3 separate regions of the Homo sapiens genome follow, and all the other regions are linked to region 1. The links are contacts of gene promoters, found by promoter capture Hi-C in human tissues and cell types (Jung and others, 2019). All regions are on one chromosome and are shown on one strand. The core of a region is centred on a gene start or on the middle of the fragment in contact, and the rest is flanking DNA. Distances in the headings are between cores, read along the strand shown. Region 1 holds the start of CD300LG (CD300 molecule like family member g). Region 2 has its middle 17 kb from the start of ETV4. Region 3 overlaps DHX8 (DEAH-box helicase 8).

Region 1 (4,789 bases), core at 1,483-3,982:
CTATTTGGCAAGTTTAACTTTATTTCCTCAAATTAAAGATCCATGGATAAAGGAATAAAAAAAAAATAGGGGCTATGGTGGTAGGGATGGGCCTGGGATTGGGATAGGTCCCAGCTATGGGGCTAGGAGAGGAATAAAGCAGACATCAAAGCTGGAAACGACTTGTGTTTGAATCCCAGTTCCATCACTTCCTGCTGTGAGATCTTGGGCAAATCACTTAGTCTCTTGGAGCCTCAGTCCCTCATCCGTGAAATGGGGATACAAAGATGTACCTCGCCCACACTGGCCAGCAGACCAAGGCTCCCACTCCCCTGGGCCCTCTCTGGCTTCTTTCTCCTTAGCTCAGCAGGTCCACTTGGGGTTCTGGGCTCCCAGAGAGGTGCTTTATCCCCTACCCAGGCCCCATAGCTCCAGCCCCGGCCCCCTAGTGTCCCTGCATTTAACGATCCCTCCTTCAGGCATCCTACCCAGAGGCTGGTTCCCAGGCACTCTAGCACCTGTGGCTGGACTTCAATATCTGGGGAGGTGGAGGCCAGGAGGGGAGAGTTGAGGGCACAAGCAGGGCGAGGCCAGCATGTCCAGGGTGATGCTGTGGGCTGGGTCTGGAATGCAGCAATGGTTGGCCCAGCCTCGGGAGGCCTCAGGAATATCTCTGACACCAGGCGAGGAGTCTTCTTTATCCCCTGATATGTCTATCTTGTACCCAGCCTATGGAAATCTCCCTCCAGCACACCTGGGCAGAAAGGAAAGGCGCCGAGCCCAGCCCTGGACAGATCTGGGTCCGGTCCTGCTCTGACATCTACTACTGGTGTGACCTCGGGCAGCAAGAGTGAGACAATGGCCAAGACTCAGGCGGCTCCTTCTGTGCCCCAAGCCTTGCTCGGTGCTTGACCTGCATGATCTCCCTGAGGACTCAGTGCCCATAATGTTGGTACCAGGATTATGCCCCACCACCCCTCCCTCTTCCCTCTGCAGCTCCTGTCCCCAGCCTGGGGAAGGAGAGATATCTGTTACCTGGAAAGACGAACAGAGAGATCAGTAAAGACTCATCGGGGCCCCGTTTTTCGACCCCACACCAGTACTCCCCAGCGTCTTGCAGGGTGAGGTTCCACAGGGTCACAATGAGCGAGAGCTCCTGGCGGCTGTCACGGATGGACACCCTGCCCTTCATTGTCTCCTGGCCTTCTTCTTCTGCATAGATGGTGCCAGAGCAGCGAGAGAAGAGGATCCCACCCTTCCTGCACCAGTACTTCCGGTGGTCCCTCAGCTCTTCCCTGTAGGTGCACTGCAGGGACACAGTGTCCCCTTCGAACCCGCTGATTTCCTCTGGGCCCTCCAGGGCTTCATAACCTAAAATCAGAGCAGGAGTGGAGGTTGGAAAAACCAGGCTCCATGTACCAAGGTCAAGGCCAGAGCTTCCATTTTAGGAGGAAGAAGGAAGGCTTTTCTCAGTCATCCCTTCTGGGGACAGCCTTGGAAGAGCCATTACTAACCTCCCACGCTGGGGGAACTTGGGGCAGGGCTGTTGCTGTTTCCCTAACCCTGGCCCATTGAGGAATTGGGGTGCAGGGGTGGCGTTCTAGATTCAGATAGAATCTGACAGCCAGATAGCCAGCAGGGTTTCTGAGTGTTTTGTTTTGTTTTGTTTGTTTGTTTGTTTGTTTTTGAGATGGAGTCTCACTTTGCCGCCCAGGCTGGAGTGCAGTGGCCCGATGTCTGCTCACTGAAACTTCTGCCTCCCGGGTTCAGGTGATTCTCCTGCCTCAGCCTCCTGAGTACCTGGGACTACAGCCACGTGCTGCCATGCCCGGCTAATTTTTTGTATTTTTAGTAGAGACGGGGTTTCACCGTGTTAGCCAGGATGGTCTTGATCTCCTGACCTTGTGATCCGTCCGCCTCAGCCTCCCAAAGAGCTTGGATTACAGGCGTGAGCCACCGTGCCTGGTTTTGTTTTGTTTTTAGACAGGATCTCACTCTGTTGCCCAGGCTGGAGGGCAATGGTGCTCATGGCTCACTGTAGCCTTGACCTCTGGGGCTCAAGCGATCCTCCCACCTTAGCCTCCCACTAGCTAGGACTACAAGTGTGCACCACCATGCCTGGCTAATTTTGTTTGTTTGTTTGTTTGTTTGTTTGTAGAGATGGGGTCTCACTATTGCCAACTGAACAACTGACATCAGTTGTAGGATTTATCCTGATTTTAAGTGTTAGAAGGTAAAGAAAAAGAAAGCAAAAGAATTGATGAAACGTGATAATTCTTCATCTTTCAGGGTTGTGGGGAGAGGCATAGCCGAAATTCAACAAATATTTGCTGAGTTTAACAGGGCAACCAGATGGGGTGTCTTGTCCGCCTCCAGGCTTGGCACAGGGTAGAAAAATTAAGATTAGAGAGGCAAAGCAACTCTCACAGCCACATTGCCATGAGGGGAAACCCACAGGTCTGGAGAAAACCTGGCTCTAGGTTCCAGAAACAGCAAGTGCGGCCCCGGCGCCACCCCCACCTCCCCCCACCCCCAGCCCGCCCCGCTCCCCTAGGGCTGAGGAGGCTGAGGATAGGTGGGGTGGGGCTATCAGTCAGTCAAGAGGTCCTTTCCCTGCAGACCACAAGGGTGAGCCCCACATCCCTCCCGAGACCCTCTCCCCATCTCACCTGGGAGCAGCAGGCAACCCCATAGCAGGACCAGAAGCCGCATTCTGGGCGCTGGACACCGTGGGAGCAGACGCTGGGAACTGTGAGCTCCTCTTCAGTCACACGGGTCTTTAACTTTCTCTAGTCGCGTGAAACCAGGCCAAGGAAGCGAGGGGAGGGGCGTGTGGGTCATCCCTCCGCAGGCCCAGCCGGGGAGGCGCCTCTGCCTTCCCTTTTCTGAGCGCCCACGCGTGCCTACCCCAGGGCTCACCTTCCAGGACTGAAAACCCACACCAGAGTTTCTCCTAAACTCGTGCCCCTTCAAGGGGGCCTTAACCTGTGGTCCGTGCGCCCTAAGGGGTCTGTAAGTCGAATTCGCATGGGAAAAAGTTACATATTGACTTTCATCAACTTCTAATATTTAGCTTTTCCTCTTATTCAGAGTGTACTGTTAGCAGTACCTGCAACTTTGTTACCAATTACAATCACAGACACTGGCACATCAAGTTGTGGATATCTCGAAACGTCGTGTATACCCCTCACTGCTTGGAAAACAATGAGTTCCTAGACCTGCCCCTAGAGCTGGTTATTTACAATAATGAAACGGCTATTATTATATTACACATTTATAAAGAGTTTTAAGAATCATCTCACCAGTATTAGTTTTCTTTCCAGCATATATATTTTATTTATATATTTACCCGCCATTATACTGAGAGAGGGGTCCATAAACTTCACCAGACTGCCATGTGGTCAGTGGGACAGAAAGAAGCTTGCCCCTGGGGCAAGGCCCCTGGCCCCTCCTCCGCCCTTGCCTTTTGGAGGACGCAGTACTGCCCTTGGCCACGGGGCGGCGGTGCAGACGGGGCTGAGCAAAGCTGTAGGGCTGAGCTGGACCGGATTCCCTGGTGCCTTGGGCCTACAGCGCTGCAAGATAGGTCTCCTCCACGCCTGCGGAGTTGTTTTGGCATTTGAAAAAGTGAATTGGTGGTTTCTCCATCGCAGACTTGAATCCTCCTTGAAAGGACCAAAACAAACATGTACACTACTGGGAGCTCTGACACACTGGCTTCAAAAATGACTTTTTTTTTGGTTTGGTTGCAAAGTTCATACAGGTTGTAAGCAAAATTTTACACAATACAGAACGTAAAAAGGAAAGAAAGAAAAAAGGGAGTGCTTCTTGTAATTCCCCTTCTGCTTTAGAAAAGCACCATTAATATTTTGGCATATATCCTTCCAAATGTTCAGTTGGAATTTTACTGACTTGTCAGGTTAATATCTGAAGCATTAACTCAGTGGTTCTGGGAGGGAAGATTGTGTGTGTGTGAGTCTAGTAACGTGGGGAGAAGTGTTTTAATTTCACAATGACTGCGAAGCACTGCTGCCATTTAGTGGGCAGGGCCAGCTGTTCACGGTGGGGAAAACTGTTACCATGATCTCAGCCCCTGACTCTCTTTTACATGTACAGACTACAAAAGGTGATCTGTTTTTGCAGTTTTAAAAAAACACAGATTAAAAAATATTTATGGCCCAGCATGGTGGCTCACGCCTGTCATCCCAGCACTTTGGGAGGCTGAGGCGGGTGGATCACCTGAAGTCGGGAGTTTGAGACCAGCCTGACCAACATGGAGAAACCCAGTCTCTACTAAAAATATAAAATTAGCCAGGCATGGTGGTGTATGCCTGTAATCCCAGCTACTCAGGGAGGCTGAGGCAGGAGAATCGCTTGAACCCAGAAGGTGGAGGTTGTGGTGAGCTGAGATCACACCATTGCACTCCAGCCTAGGCAACAAGAGTGAAATTCTATCTAAAAAAAGAAAAAAAAGTATTTGTTTATTTACTTATTTTTGAGACAGGTCTCACTCTTGTTGCCCAAACTGGAGTGCAGTGGCGCCATCACAGCTCACTGCAGCCTCAAACTCCCAGGCTGAAGTGATCCTCCCACCTCAGCCTCCCAAGTAGCTGGCACTACAGGCGTGCACCACTGTTGCCTGGCTAATTTTTTATTTTTAGTAGAGACAGGGTCTTGTTATGTTGTCAGGCTTTTCTCAAACTCCTGGCTTCATGCGATCCTCCCACGTCGGCCTCCCAAAGTGCTGGGATTACAGGCACGAGCCACCATGCCCGGCCTTAAAGTAATACTTATTCTAGCATTTGATAGC
Region 2 (4,242 bases), core at 774-3,273, 280 kb after region 1:
AATAATACTTTGTGACATATGAAAATTACATGAAATTCAAATGTCCGTGTCCATAAATAAAATTTTGTTGGAACACAGTCATGCTCATTCATTTACATCTATGGCTGCTTCCAGAGTAGGTATGACAGAGACCTTATGGCCCTCAAAGGCTAAAATATTTACCACCTGACCTTCTATAGAAAAAGGTGGCTGGGCCGGGCACAGTGGGTCGTGCCTGTAATCCCAGCACTTTAGGAGGCTAAGGCGGGTGGATCACCTGAGGTTAGGAGTTCAAGACCAGCCTGGCCAACATAGTGAAACCCTATCTCCACTAAAAGTACAAAAATTAGCTGGGCGCAGTGGCGGGCACCTGTAATCCCAGCTACTCCGAAGGCTGAGGCAGGAGAATCACTTGAACCCAGGAGGCGGAGGTTGCAGTGAGCCAAGATCGCACCATTGGACTCCAGCCTGGGTGACAGGAGCGAAACTCTGTCTCAAAAAAGAAAAGAGAAGAAAAAGGTGGCTGACCCCTTCTCTAAACTGTGTTCTAACTCCCCTCTCACTCTAGACATTCTTTTTATCATCCCCATGGCCCAGATGCAGAGAGGTTAGATCACCTGCCAGGGAAACCCATCTTGGGGTGGTAGCAGGCGGGCTGGCTCCAGTTCACTCCCTCCAGGAAACACCCTATGTGAGGCTCTCTGAGGTGGTAGACATGGCATTGCTTTGCAAACTGCAGAGAAGTTTACAAATGCTAGATCTGTACCTCCCTTTCCTCCTGGTAGGCATCAGTGACTGAATCTACACTCACTCCCCAGATCAAAATGCCCCAACACCCTACACATACCACACCCAGCCCAAAGACCTCCTGATATGATTAATTAGCACTTTTTCTACAAGCTTCTACTTCGGAAGGAGAGGGTTGAGTCTACCATACTCTCCGTTCATGGCCTGTTGTCATAACTGGTCTGTGTAGTGCCCTGCTCTTGGTTTCATTCATTCATACATTCCCTTTTTTTTTTTTTTTTTTTTTGAGACAGGGTCTTCTCTGTCACCCAGGCTGGAGTGAACTGGTGAGATCAGAGTTCACTGCAGCCTTGACCTCATGGGCTCAAGCAATCCTCTCACCTCAGCCTCCTAACTTGCTGGGACTACAAGGACATGCCACTGTAATTTTTTTCATTTTTTTGTAGAGATGGGGTCTCACTGTGTTGTCCAGGCTGGTCTTGAACTCCTGGGCTCAAGCGATCACCCCACCTCAGCATCCCAAAGTGCTGGGATTATAGGCATGAGCCACTGCACCCAATCTGTTTGCTGAGTTCTTTCAGGATGGGTAGTTATTTCGTAGGCATGGGGTTTATTTACATAAATAGCATTGTGTTATATATTTTGTTTCCTACAATTTTTTTCCTCTACAACATTTGTTTGCTCTTTCCTTTCCTGTTGAGGTATAACATATATACGGTAAAGTGAGTAATGTGCACTGATCTGAAATATGAAACTCGATTTTTAGCCTACATATACATCTGTGTAATCATCACCGAGATCAAAATATAGAACATTTCCAGTACCCCAGCCAAGTTTCCCTTGTGTCCCTTCACAGTCAATAAACTGCCCCCTTCCCTGCCTGAGGTACCCACTCTTCCAGCTCCCATCTCCACCCATTCATTGAATTTTTTCTTGAACTTCCTCTGCATGGAATCGTACCTGTCTTTCATGTCTTGCTTCTTTTGCTCAACTTGTCTGGGAGACTCCCCTATGTCGTTGCGGGTAGAGAGAATTTGTATTTTTTGCTGTTGCGGAGCACTACGTTTTTGAGATCTATCGCGGGGCTCTGTGTACAGGCGTCAGTGCTTCTTGCTGCTACCTGGCGCCCCTTGGTGCTTCCACCCACTTGACCTTTCCACTCTCCCAGTGAGGGACACCCAGGGTGCCTCCTATGAGGCTGCTCTGATCATCCTCATCCACATCTCCTTATGGAGCCGTGTGAACATTTCACTGGATGAATACCTAGGAAAAGAATCTTTTGGGCACAGGGAATTGACTGCCCCAGCAACTGACAAACTGCTGAAATTGACTAGCTCTTTTCCATGTCTACCAAGGCAGGAGCAGGGAGAAGGGAAGAAGAGCTGCTGCTTTGGTGATCCTCCTCTGACCCCACTCTCCCCTCCCCCTTGCCCTCCAGGAAAACCTTTCAGCTCCCCCACCTCTTCTTCTTGCAGGACCCAACTAAGCGCTTTGCTTCCTGAATGTCGCTGCCTCCGCAGCAGCCCGCACCATCCTGCTGCATTATAACAGGACGATAATCAATGAACTGCTAACTCTATTGCAATAAAGGAGCGAGCCCAACCTTATATAATTCTTTTTAATTGTTTTCTCACATTACAAGGTTTTTTTTTTTTTTTGGCTAAACTTATTCCGCCGTAAGTTATGTCGTTTAATTTCTCAAAGTGCTAATAATTTAATTGCTTCCTTCCTGCAGACAAAGTGCCTGAACTGTCCTCCCTCCCCGGCACGGAGATTATAAAACGGAGTTGGCAGGAATACCTAAGAGGAGAGTCTTTTTGGCGGCAGGATTTGATGGGAAGCAGCTTTCTCAGAAGTCAGTGTGTGAGGCTGGGAACCTGGCTTGGGACTTCAAAGGGGCATGGGGCCCAGCCAAGCCTGCCTAACTCGAGAGGGTTTATGATAATCACAGGGGAGGGGAAAGGGAAGAGCTGAGATTAGAGAGGCTGGACGAGGGTGGGGAACACTAAACATGGAGCTTCCCGTCCTGAAAGGCTGTCAGGGAAGCTGGGCTCCATCTGCAGCAGAGGGATTTAGATCAGACTGGTAGGCGGAGTGGGGGCATTCCTGAGAGTCAGGACTTCGAGATGCTGACTGGACCCGGGACAGGGTGGGGAGGTAACATCTGATAACAGGAACTAGCCTTTATTGATCCCTTACTGAAAGCCTGAGCTTCCCTAGAGCATCTCAATTTACCTGCACACCCAGGTCTCTGAGGCAGGTACTACTAGTATTGCCGTTTTACAGATGAGGAAACTGAGGCATAGAAAGGTTCCAGGCCCCATAGCTTGTTGGTGAATGATGAGTTGAGTGATGGCATCACATCTTATGTGGCAAAAGGGGGACAGGATCAGGGATGAGCGACTCTTGAAGATTCCAAGGCAGTGACCTCCTTCCTCTTGCCTAGGGTCTGATTCAGTCAGAATTGCTTTAACCTACCCATGCTCCGCCACCCTGCCCCCGACCCCAGTGACTCCCATGATCTATAGGATATAATACAAGCTCCTAAACAAGGTCTTCAAAATGCTCACACTCCCTAGCCTGAGGGTAGGAATTTTGAGGACTACCCCCAAATTTGTCTCTCCCCTAGGATTTCCTTTCTGGCTCCTACACCTTGGCAAATGCTGCTTCTTTAAACCTGGAACCTTCTCCCCTCTCCTAGGAAGAAATTTCATTCATCCCATGAGGACTGGCTCAAATGCTGCCTCCCCACTTCCCCAAGCAGAGCCCCTCTCTCAAATCCCTGGGACACTCAGAGCACACCTCTGCTGGAGAGAGATCTGATTTGCAGGGTTGCTGGCCTGAGCTTACTCATTGACTCCCCTTGCTATTCACTAGCTCTGTGACTTTGGGAAACTTTCTTTTCTTTCTTTTTTTTTTTTTTTTTTTTGAGAAGGAGTTTCGCTCTTGTTGCCCAGGCTGAAGTGCAATGGTGCCATCTCAGCTCACCACAACCTCCGCCTCCCAGGTTCAAGCGATTCTTCTGCCTCAGCCTCCCGAGTAGCTGGGACTATAAGCATGCGCCACCACGCCTGGCGAATTTTGTATTTTTAGTAGAGACAGGGTTTCTCCATGTTGGCCAGGATGGTCTCGAACTCCTGACCTCAGTTTATTCACCCACCTCGGCCTCCCAAAGTGCTGGGATTACAGGCGTGAGCCACTGCGCCCAGACACTTAGAAACTTTCTAACAGAGAAGTTAGAAAGAAACTTCTCTACGCTGTACACATATATGATGTGGAATAAATGAGTAGCACATGCAAAACATTTAGCCTGGCACATGATGAACGATGAAAGATTTGCTGTTGTTCTTGACTGTCGTTGACCCTGTATTCTCATCTCCTAACACAGTGCCTGGCATGTAGCAATTGCTCAATAAATGAATAAAATGGAAATAATTACTAACTACCTCCTCCCTCTACCCCAGCCCCAGGAATATTCCTGTTTGGAACCCTAGTTGAAACCCCAGGTATAACACC
Region 3 (4,521 bases), core at 1,863-4,362, 340 kb after region 1:
CTTTAACATTACTCAAGTCCATCTGCCTTTTTTTTTTTTTTTTGAGATAGAGTCTCACTCTGTTGCCCAAGCTGGAGTGCAGTGGTGCAATCTCGGCTTACTGCAACCTCCACCTCCCGGGTTCAAGCGATTCTCCTGCCTCAGCCTCCCGAGTAGCTGAGATTACAGGCACGTGTCACCATGCCTGGCTAATTTTTGTATTTTTAGTACAGACTGGGTTTCATTATGTTGGCCAGGCTGGTCTCGAACTCCTGACCTCATGATCCATCCGCTTCAGCCTCCCAAAGTGCTGGGATTACAGGTGTGAGCCACCACACCCGGCCAAGTCCATCTGCCTTCTACTCTTAGGTATATGTCCAAGAGAAATGAAAACATACGTCCACACAAAAACTTGGTTTTCTTTTTTGAGACAGGGTCTGGTTTGCTCTGTAGCCTTGGCTGGAGTATAGTGGTGTGATCATGGCTCATAGCAGCCTCACCCTCCCAGGCTCAAGTGATCCTCCCACCTCAATCTCTTGAGTAGCTGGGACTATGCATGTGCCACCACGCCTGGCTGATTTTTTTTTTTTTTTTTTTTTGTAGAGATAGGGGTCTCACCATGTTGCCCAGGCTGATCTTGAACTTCTGGGCTCAAGGGATCCTCCCACCTTGGTCTCCAAAAATGCTGGGATCTGCCAGGCGTGGTGGCTCATGCCTGTAATCCTAGCACTTTGGGAGGCTGAGGCGGATGGATCATCTGAGATCAGGAGTTCGAGACCAGCCAGGCCAACATGTCAAAACCCTGTCTCTACTAAAAATACAAAAATTAGCCAGGCATGGTGGCACATGCCTGTAATCCCAGCTACTCAGGAGGCTGAGGCAGAAGAATCACTTGAACCTGGGAGGCAGAGGTTGCAATGAACCAAGATCATGCCACTGCATTCCAGCCTGGATGACAGAGAAAGACTCTGTCTCAAAAAAAAAAAAAAAAAAATGCTGGGATCACAGGCATAAGCCACTGCGCCTGGCTCACACAAAAATGTGTAAACAAATGTTCACAGCAGCATTATTCAAGAAAGCCCAAAAGTGAAAATGACTCCTATGTCTATCTTTATCTTCCTTTTGAGATAGTTTTGCTCATTGCCCAGGCTGGAGTGCAATGGCACGATCTCGGCTCACTGAAACCTCTGCCTCTTGGGTTCAGGTGATTCTCCTGTCCCAGCCTCCCAGGTAGCTGGGATTACAGGCACCCGCCACCACGCCTGGCTAATTTTTGTATTTTTAGTAGAGACAGGGTTTCACCATATCAGCCAGGCTGGTCTTGAACTCCTGACCTCAGGTGATCCATCTGCCTCAGCCTCCCAAAGTGATGAAATTACAGGTGTGAGCCACTGCGCTCAGCTCCAATGTCCATCAACTGATAAATGGATAAACAAAATGTGTTGTGCCCATACAACACAACAGTATTCAGCAAGAAAAAGAAATGAAGTATTGATACATACTACAATGTTGATGAACTCTGAAAACATGCTAAGTCTGGAAAAATCACTGGAAATAAGCCAGCCACAAATATGTGATTTCATTTATATGAAATGTCTAGAATAGGCAAATCCACAGAGATGGAAGATATAGGTTAGTGGTTTCCAGAGGCTGAGCAGAGGAGTAAATGGGGGTAGATGACTGCTAAAGGGTACAGCATTTCTTTTTAGGGAGATAAAATTGTTCTAAATATAATTGTGGTGATGGCTGCACAATTCTGTGAATATGGTTAGCCCTCTGTATCTGCTGGTTCCCCATCTATGGATTCAACCAACAGCAGATTAAAAATATTTGAGGAAAAAAATTCAACAATAAAAAAATACAAATAAAAAATACAGTAAAACAACTGCTTATATAGCATTTACACTGTATGAGGTATTATAGGTAATCTAGAGATAAAGTATCACACAGGAAGATGTGCATAGTTTACATGCAAATACTATGGCATTTTACATAAGAGACTTGAGCATACTTGGATTTTGGTATCCTCGGGGGTCCTGGAACCAATCCCCACATACCATGGGTAAAAGCCTTTGAACTGTACACTTTAAAAGGGTAAATTCTGGCTGGGCACGGTGGCTCACACCTGGAATCCCGGCGCTTTGGGAGGCCGAGGGGGGCAGATCATCTGAGGTCAGGAGTTCGAGACCAGCCTGACCAGAATGGAGAAACCCTGTCTCTACTAAAAATACAAAATTAGCCGGGTGTGGTGGCACATGCCTGTAATCACAGCTACTCGGGAGGCTGAGGCAGGAGAATCACTTGAATCTGGGAGGCGGAGGTTGCGGTGAGCCAAGATCGCACCATTGCACTCCAGCCTCGGCAACAAGAGCGAAACTCCATCTCAAAACAAACAAACAAACAAACAAACAAACAAAAAACAGTAAATTCCAATCTGGGCAACATGGCGAAACTGTGTTTCTACAAAAAAAATACAAAAATTGGCTGGGCGCAGTGGCTCACGCCGGTAATCCCAGCACTTTGGGAGGCCGAGACCGGCAGATCACATGAGGTCAGGAGTTCGAGACCAGCCCGGCCAACGTGGGGAAACCCCATCTCTACTAAAAATACAAAAATAAGCCAGGCGTGGTAGTGGGTGCTTATAGTCCCAGCTACTCGGGAGGCTGAGGCGGGGGAATCGCTTGAACCTGGGAGGTGAAGGTTGCAGTGAGCCGAGATTGTGCCGTTGCACTCCAGCCTGGGCAACAAGAGTGAAACTCTGTCTCAAAAAAAAACACAAAAACAAAAACAAAAACCAAAATTAGCCAAGAATGGTGGCATGCACCTGTAGTCCCAGCTGCTTAGGCGGCTGAGGCAGGAGGATCACTTGAGCCTGAAAGGCAGAGGTTGCAGTGAGCTGAGATCACATCACTGCACTCCACCTTGGGTGACAGACTGAGACCCCATCTCAAAAAAAAAAAAAAAAATAAGTGGGAGGTGGAGGGAGTTAATTGAAAGGTATGTAAATTATATCTCAATAAAACTGTTACTAAAAAAATACCTACATCCATCTGTCTCCTTTCCTGTTGTCTCATACACACAGTCATATACTTGGTTCCAGCCACTGGAACTATGCCATTCCCTGAACTGGCCCTACTTGCTCGTCTCCAGGCCATCACAGATAGTTCTGTGTCCTTAGAATGCTTGTCCCCTTGCCTTTCAAGAGTTCTCCAGGACTACCTTAGATCCTTATTTCCTCTAGGAAGACAGGGTTGGGTGCTCCCGCCTGGGTATCCAAGCATGAGTGGCATTTTCACACTAAATGCTGAAAGTCTGTTGACTGGGGGATGCCCCACAGCAGATAGAGGCTTGTTCTCACAATGCAGCTCCCATGTGTAGCCCAAAGCCTGGTAGATGCTCAAAAAATATTTGTCAAATGAAGAAGAGGAAGAAGAGGAGAGGTCACATACTAAACAAATTGGTTGGACCTCATTCCTAAACAAATTGGTTGGACCAGTCTCTGAAACCTAACAAACAAGACTTGCATACACCTGGCCGGGCGCGGTGGCTCACACCTATAATCCCAGCACTTTGGGAGGCTGAGGCGGGCGGATCACGAGGTCAGGAGATCGAGACCATACTGGCTAACACGGTGAAACCCCGTCTCTACTAAAAATACAAAAAATTAGCCAGGCGTGGTGGCAGGTGCCTGTAGTCCCAGCTACTCAGGAGGCTGAGGCAGGAGAATGGCGTGAACCCGGGAGGCGGAGCTTGCAGTGAGCTGAGATGGTGCCATTGCACTCCTGCCTGGGTGAGAGCGAGACTCTGCCTCGAGGAAAAAAAAAAAAAAAAAGACTTGCATACACCCTAAGCAATCCCTACTATGGCTGACAGGCTGCACACAACACATGGTTTCAGGGCACATGGAAGCTTCATTTTTGCCCATGTTACCTTTCTGCTGCCTGGTGGAGCTGGGTCAAAGATTCGGGTCTGCATCTCACTGGGAAGAGCAGAGTACACTGGGAGGATAATTAACTCTGGAACATCAGGTCCCAGGGATTTCATTCTTTCATACAGGATCTCACAAGCAGTATCAATTTCTTCCTGACCAGTCAGGAAGACCAGGATATCACCTACGAGCAGAATAGAACATTCATCTACTTTCTGTGTGTGTATGTGTGTCCTATACAAGGGCTATGGTGATATTAATAAAACTTCAAATAACAGAACATATGCATTCATATTCTGACCAGTAAGTAAACAATACAAGTTTGTTTATATATGACATTATAACCACCATCATTTCAAACATACAAGCCTGAGGCTTGCAGAGAGATGAATATTTAGAAGTTGTTTTTAAAAAGATTAGCAAAAAAGATACCCATATGAGGACTTTTGGCCTAAGAGGGAAAATTAGGCCTCCCAAAAAGGAAAATTGCTTTTTCCCCTTACCTGGTGGTTCTGTTAAATGAATCTGCATAACAGTAATCAGGCTGGCATCCAGATAATCTGTCTCAGGTTCCTTTGTGTACAGTATTTCCACTGGATATGTTCGACCTGGGA

What was found. Contacts are between HindIII fragments. The study calls those that stand out against the background at their distance.
Region 2: a fragment that was not itself captured here is called in contact with the fragment with the promoter of CD300LG in region 1 in 1 of the 25 tissues and cell types used here (pancreas).
Region 3: a fragment that was not itself captured here is called in contact with the fragment with the promoter of CD300LG in region 1 in 4 of the 25 tissues and cell types used here (IMR-90 fibroblasts, liver, mesenchymal stem cells and 1 more).

Annotation. Positions count from the first base shown.
Region 1 is chr17:43,845,119-43,849,907 of GRCh38, reverse strand. It overlaps CD300LG (CD300 molecule like family member g), which reads right to left and starts at 2,732. Exons shown (of 7, transcript NM_145273.4): 1 at 2,649-2,732; 2 at 1,015-1,350. The coding sequence starts at 2,691. LOC107984979 (a long non-coding RNA gene) reads right to left here. Exons shown (of 3, transcript XR_001753057.2): 3 at 3,433-3,644. LOC107985077 (a long non-coding RNA gene) reads left to right here. Exons shown (of 2, transcript XR_001752896.2): 2 at 1-158. The HindIII fragment of the contact is 22,281 bases long and covers 1-4,789 here.
Region 2 is chr17:43,561,377-43,565,618 of GRCh38, reverse strand. No RefSeq gene overlaps it. Among named protein-coding and RNA genes, the nearest start is that of ETV4, 17 kb to the right of the region's middle. The HindIII fragment of the contact is 6,893 bases long and covers 1-4,242 here.
Region 3 is chr17:43,507,909-43,512,429 of GRCh38, reverse strand. DHX8 (DEAH-box helicase 8) reads right to left here. Exons shown (of 23, transcript NM_004941.3): 15 at 4,411-4,521; 16 at 3,910-4,091. Among named protein-coding and RNA genes, the nearest start is that of DHX8, 26 kb to the right of the region's middle. The HindIII fragment of the contact is 8,192 bases long and covers 1-4,521 here.